Regions from separate parts of the Homo sapiens genome. Here region 2 is linked to region 1. Evidence: promoter capture Hi-C in 16 types of primary human blood cells and fetal thymus (Javierre and others, 2016). All regions are on one chromosome and are shown on one strand. The core of a region is centred on a gene start or on the middle of the fragment in contact, and the rest is flanking DNA. Distances in the headings are between cores, read along the strand shown. Region 1 holds the start of PHEX (phosphate regulating endopeptidase X-linked). Region 2 overlaps PHEX (phosphate regulating endopeptidase X-linked).

Evidence for each region. The method cuts DNA at HindIII sites, captures the fragments that hold promoters and counts their contacts. A CHiCAGO score of 5 or more calls a contact.
Region 2: a fragment that was not itself captured here is called in contact with the fragment with the promoter of PHEX in region 1 in 1 of 17 cell types (neutrophils); the score reaches 5.9 in neutrophils.

Annotation. Positions count from the first base shown.
Region 1 is chrX:22,030,806-22,034,066 of GRCh38, forward strand. It overlaps PHEX (phosphate regulating endopeptidase X-linked), which reads left to right and starts at 1,520. Exons shown (of 22, transcript NM_000444.6): 1 at 1,520-2,318. The coding sequence starts at 2,201. The HindIII fragment of the contact is 6,886 bases long and covers 1-3,261 here.
Region 2 is chrX:22,185,406-22,188,666 of GRCh38, forward strand. All of the region lies in intron 14 of PHEX (phosphate regulating endopeptidase X-linked), which reads left to right. Among named protein-coding and RNA genes, the nearest start is that of PHEX-AS1, 14 kb to the left of the region's middle. The HindIII fragment of the contact is 807 bases long and covers 1,346-2,152 here.

The sequences.
Region 1 (3,261 bases), core at 270-2,769:
GTCTCGAACTCCTGACCTCGTGATCCACCCGCCTTGGCCTCCCAAAGTACTGGGATTACAGGCGTGAGCCACTGCGCCCAGCTGAAGCTGGTTGTTAAGAGTAAGTGGCTAGGGCTAACTTGTATGATTTTTATTGCTCTCCTTTTCACTGTGAAGGGCCAGGAAATGTCGATGTTGGAGCTGCAACATTGAACATGGTTCCTGACTTTGTGGAACTCATGGTCTAAGATGTGTTCTAGAGTGAGGTCCAAAAACTCTTGGGAGAATCCCATACTAGGGGCCAAAGTCCTGCTAGGGTGTGTTATGGAATAACAGCAACAAAATAATGTCAACAGCCAATGAGCACAGGATAACTACAACACACCATGATGTCATAACTTGGACAAAGGCTTGTGACCCCCTGACTTTGGCGCAACATGAAATGAGCAGAAAGTAAGGTATATTATGGAATAAGCCCCAAAACTTGAGAGAATCCCATGCTAAGGGCTTAAGCCCTGACCAAGACAAGCCAGACAGGACCATGAATGTGTGGCCATGTTATACTGAGCTCATCAGCACCTGCTGAGCTCCTGTGTCACCTCTAAAGCCATGCGCACAAGTTTTGCATTGAGATAATTGCTCTACTGGTTTCTAGATATAGTTGAATTCTCCACCCCCACTCCCACTGCCCTATGACCTCCAGCAAAACAAAAGCAGGTAGGTAGTAATTGTGTTGTGAGTTAACGATATCTATATCTTTGGATAATAAAATCTATATCATTTCAGTGGTAGCATTGGAATATCAGTTGCCCTTCCCCATGAAGAAAGCACATTGTTATCGTTTAAATCATTATCATAATCAAAAATATCAAAGACCCAGTCATTCATCAGTCTTTCCAGTGAAGTCAACTGCCTTTGTTTTTTGTTTGTTTATTTTTGAGACAGGGTCTCTCTCTCTGTCACCCAGGTTAGAGTGCAGTGGCGCGATCTGGCTCACTGCAACCTCCACCTCCCAGGCTCAAGCGATTCTCCCACCTCTGCCTCCTGAGTAGCTGGGAATACAGGTGCTCACCAACATGCCCGGCTAATTTTTGTGTTTTTAGTACAAACAAGGTTTCGCCTTGTTGGCCAGGCTGGTCTCGAACTCCTGGCCTCAAGCGAGCCCCCTGCCTCAGCCTCCCAAAGTGCTGGGATTACAGGCGTGGGCCACTACGCCCGGCCTGAAACCAATTGCCTTTGAATTCATCCTGGGGAATCTGCTGAAGTGGACAGTTTATGTAAACACAAAAACATCCTAATGAATGGCTGCCTCAGTAGGAGTGGCAGACAAAACACATGGTGCACTTTTCATCAAAAACACACAAGGAAAAAATTTTTCATCATATCTTTTGTAGTTGCTAATAAACTTAATTCACGCACTTGTGTTTTTTTGTGGGTTTTTTTTTTTGTACACTTCTTAGTACCACAAAGAGGAAGTGCTTTTTCTCCTTCCTTTAAGAAAAAGTTCCAGTTCAAACCATCAGCCTCTGTAGGTTGTCTTAATTGCTACTTTGCACTGCACTGGACTATGACTGATTTTTGGCACATGCTATCATACACAAAGTTCCTGAAATAAAATGCTCCAGGATATCCTAGGAACTCTTAGAAGGCTTTAAAAAGGGACTCACACACTGAAAGAATATCTTTGATGAAGACAATTCAGGCAAGCAGAATGATTCTTGCAACAGAATTACATGATTAATTGAGATCTTGAAGTGGGTCCGGTGAATCCTGGCCACCTAACTTATCATGATTTGGGGGAGTTTCACGAGAATCCAGTTTTGATAAAACAATTGTTTTTTTCCTCCCCAAGTGACTATACATTTAAATAGCTAAAACATCTGTTCAGCAACATAGTAAAACATATATACTCGGAACGCTTGAGAGAAGAGCCTGCCAAACAGGGACTTTGCTGAGGGAGAGCACCAAGATAAAGCAACACTGTTTGTTTTGTCTAGTCAGGGGGAAAGCCAAGGCAACCAATATTTTGGTTTTTATAATTTTCATTTGTGAAGAATTATTTGAGAAAGGGTGGCGAGGGGAGATTTCCTGACGGCAGTTTCTTAAGCTGTCCATTAGTAGAAGAGCAAGAAAGCCTTGGATGTCAACGCCTCGCTCTTGAGACCAGCCACCAAACCACGAAAAGTGACTTTCTTCTCGTGTGCTCTCTACGGCCCTTCTGATGGAAGCAGAAACAGGGAGCAGCGTGGAGACTGGAAAGAAGGCCAACAGAGGCACTCGAATTGCCCTGGTCGTGTTTGTCGGTGGCACCCTAGTTCTGGGCACGATCCTCTTTCTAGGTAAGTGGAGTGCAGGAGGCCGGGGGAACTGGGTGTGTGTCGAGAAGTTTCCTTGTGCTTTATTGTAGCAAAACTTGTCATAACACAGGTATAGGGCTGTTTGCCTGCGTTCATAGGTGGTGTATCTTTAGTTTCTATCAAATATGCAAATGATAAAGAAGGCTTTTTTAAGGAGCCTAAATAAATAAATACACCCAAGTACCAAATGTATAGTCCAGAAGGCAAAGTGGGTGTAAGTGGCTTCGAGTGGCTGGCTGATTCTGTTGCATTGGGTGGAAAATTTTTTATGTGGTACATTTAGCAAAATGAGTGTTTGTGAATTCATAGTCACATAGTTTCATTTATATTTTGAGGAAAGACTTTACATTGTGATGAAAACCATGCTGGAGTGTCTTTCCATTTGACTTTTATTAATGTTTGCTTGAACGAATCATGAAATTTAATTCACAAAACACAAATCAGTCCTTTAAAGTGTGCTTTTAATGATATTCTTCAATTCCTTTCTTATCCAGTGACTCTGGTGAGATGCAATTTGATTTACAAATTAATATGAAGGAAAACAGAGGTTTTCCCCCAAGATTTGAAAGATATTGTGATTCAGTTATTTTAATGACTGTTGGTGAGAATGATGTACCCAGAGAGTATATAGGATGATAGAAGTGTATTCCCATGAAAAAGAATCAAATATCTTGGAAAGGAGTGAGGGATTTTCTAAAATTCTAGGCTTTCTGAACCCTTGACTATTACCGTTTTAATTTTTCTCATACAACCCATAATACTTCATTAACTTGAACGTTACATAGGAACGAGGAGATTCTAGGTGCAGTTTGAAATGTAGCAAACCTGCAGGAGGCCATGTTTATTTTGGCAGGGGTAAACCAGTAATTAAACTTTAAAAGAGTTAGGGTTGTGTGGTTGAAAACTGCTAAAATGAGCAAACCAT
Region 2 (3,261 bases), core at 499-2,998, 150 kb after region 1:
ACTCAGATGCCTTCAGGGGCCAGTCAGTTAACAAATGGTTGACCTACATGGGTGTAAACAACAGGGAGTGGTAGGGACTGTAGAAAACTAGTAATTACACACACCACTTGAAGGAATTCCAATTCAATAGTTTGTTAAGCCATTGTGTTGGGCAAGCAAAACAGTTTTCTGGGAAGATTCAGCCCATTGGGTTGGACTTAGTCTGTGGATAGCCAACTTTTCAGCATTCCATTTATCTATTGCTGTGTGATAAACCTCCCCCAAATTTAGAGTACTGAAACAACAGTCATTATTTTTCTCTCTCATGGTTCTGGGGGTCACTAGGCTCAGCTGCATGGTTCTCGTTTGTGGTTTTTTTTTTTTTTTTTGGACACAGAGTCTCACTCTGTCACCAGGCTGGAGTACATTGGCGTGATCTCGGCTCACTGCAACCTCCGTCTCCCAGGTTCAAGCGATTCTCCTGCCTCAGCCTCCTGAGTAGCTGAGATTACAGGTGCCCGCCACCACGCTGAGCTAATTTTTGTAGTTTTAGTACAGACAGCATTTCACCATGTTGGCCAGGCTGGTTTCGAACTCCTGACTTCAGGTGATCTGCCCACCTCAGCCTCCCAAAGTGCTGGGATTACAGGCATGAGCCACTGCACCTGACCATTTGTGGTCTTTCATGTAGTTACAGTCAGATAGTGGCTGGGGCTAGAGTCATATGGAAGGCTACCTCTCTCACATGTCTAATGGTTGATGCTGACTGTTGACTAGAACATCTACATATGGCCTCTTCATGTATGTTGGGTTTCCTTACAGCATGTTGATTGATATAGAAAGTTCAAAGAGCAGCTTTTCTGAGAAAGAAGAAGGGAGGGAGGGTGTGTTTGTATGCATCAGGGGGAAGTTGTATCACCTTTAATTACCTAGCCTTGGAAGTCACACTGTCATTTCTGCTGCGTATTATTCTTTAGAAGTGAGTCACTAAGGCTAACCCATAATCAAGGGGAGAGGAATTTAGATTCCATCTCTTAATGGGAGGAGTGTAAAAAAGTTCACAAACACATATTAAAACTAGCACATGTAGCCTTACATTAGAGAATAGTAAAACTAAATATATAATAAACTTGGATGTAATACGGGAGATATACAAAATGTTTAACAGCTGGTTTGGCATGGGCCCTGAACAAATAGAAGAAATAACAGCATCAACAACTGGTAGGATCTACTGGTGCAGCTGCTTAATATCAGCTCTGGGTATTATCAAGTCTCCATACGTGCCCTAGAGTCAATAAGAGCCCTGGGAGGTCAGGAATGGTAAGATCATGTGTCTGAAATAAGATGTTTTCGTTATTCTTGTTGAAGCTTCAGAAGCCCCATTAAGGTCTAGTTTCAGAGACTGGTTGTTTGGTTTGCTTTGTCTACCTTTGTCTACCAGCAGTTAGGAACATTTTCCCTGCATGGCCCTTACCTGAATATTTTAAAAGTTTGTTATTTTAAAGAGAGGGGAGTTGGGAAGAACAAAAAGAGAAGGGACAAGCTCTAGGAATACACGTTATCTTTTGTATGTATTATGATTCATTCCAGTGTTATTTAGAAGCCAAGGCACCCACCTGGATTTTCCCCTCTTGACCTACAAATGTTGGGTTCTTTGGATAGTGCATTAGTTTCCTATTGCTACTGTAACAAACTCCTACAACCTAAGCAGCTTAAAACAGCACAGATTTATTATCTCACAGTTCTCTAGCTCAGAAGTCTAGGGTAGCTTGGTTGTTTTCTCTGCTTTGGATTTCATAAGGCTGAAATCAGAGTGTCAGCCGGCTGGGCTCTTATGGGGAGGTTCTGGGAATAATCCCCTTCCAAGGGGATTCAAGTTGTTGGCAGAATCCAGTTCTTTCTGATTGTAGGGGTAAGGTCTTTACTTCCTTGCTGGCTATCGCCTGGAAGCCACTCTTTGTTCTCAGAGGGATTTATGCAGTCCTTGCCCATTGCCCCTACATCTTAGAGCCAGCAGCGTGTCAAATCCTTCTTACCCTTCCTCCTCTCCGACTTCCTCCTCTGTTGCATCTCTCTGATTCCAGCCAAACAAGGTTGTCTGCTTTTAAGGGCTTGTGATTAGATTGAGCCTACCTGAATAATCCAGGATAATCTCTCTATTTTAAGGTCCTTAAGCTTAATTACACCTGCAAAGTCCTTCTTACTATGTAATGTAACATGTTCATAGGATCCAGGGATTAGGACTTGGCCATAATTTTACCTACTACAGGTAGCCAAGTTAGGTCAATAGAGGTGCTTTCCCCTTCACTTGTTTCCTCAGGAAAGTAGGCCAACCAGCAAGTTTATGTTAAACACTAGGGCTTAATTGAAATACCCTAAATTTGAAGGAAAAGAATATGCATTTTATGGAAATATGTCTAGGTTTCGGTTTTGAAGAGAGAAGAGGTGCTCTTTCTTGATTTCCAGTAATGTCTACAGTATAATATAATGCTTAGGCGAACTGGTTTGAAGTCAGACAGACCAGGCCTCGTACAAGCACATAATGCTCATAAATCTCATTATCCTCGTCTGTGAAATGGGCTAATAATTCCTATGTTGCCATGGGGAAAAACTGATGAATAGAAGGTGCTTAGGACATAGTAAGTGCTCAATGAATGTTAGCTAAATATAATGATAATGATAACAGAATGACATATTCATAGACTTCTTTGTAGCTGGGGAGAAGGTATGAGTTTACCAACTAGTATCAATAATTGGGTTTCCTATTAGTTTCATATTAACCTGATATAAATTAATTTGTTAGTCTGACATAATTATCCTATTAGACGTAAATGAGTAATACAATTATTCTAGAAAGGGATTTATACAAGTTTTTTTTTTCTTTTTAATTTTTTTAGAGACTGGAACTTCTGGGCTCAGGCAGTCCTCCTGCCTCAGCCTCCCAAGTAGCTGGAACTATATTTGCATGCCACTGCTGGGCCTAGGAGTTTATTTTTAGCAATTTTGCTTAAGATGAATTGCTTGGTTTTAATCATAACAAGCAGTCACTGAAACTCACAACCATCTAAGTCAGGGTTTGGCCACTATGGCCTGTGGGCCAAATCTCACCTGCTGCCTGTTTTTGTGTGGCCCATGAGCTAAGAATAATTTTTAGAGATAAATGTTTGCAGGTGGTTTGATGATGGGGAAGCCCTAACTTTGTTCTGTTTTTTGTTTTTGTTTTTTAATTAAAATAACTTTTGTTGGTACGTAGTAGTTGTAAATATTTATGGGGTACATGAG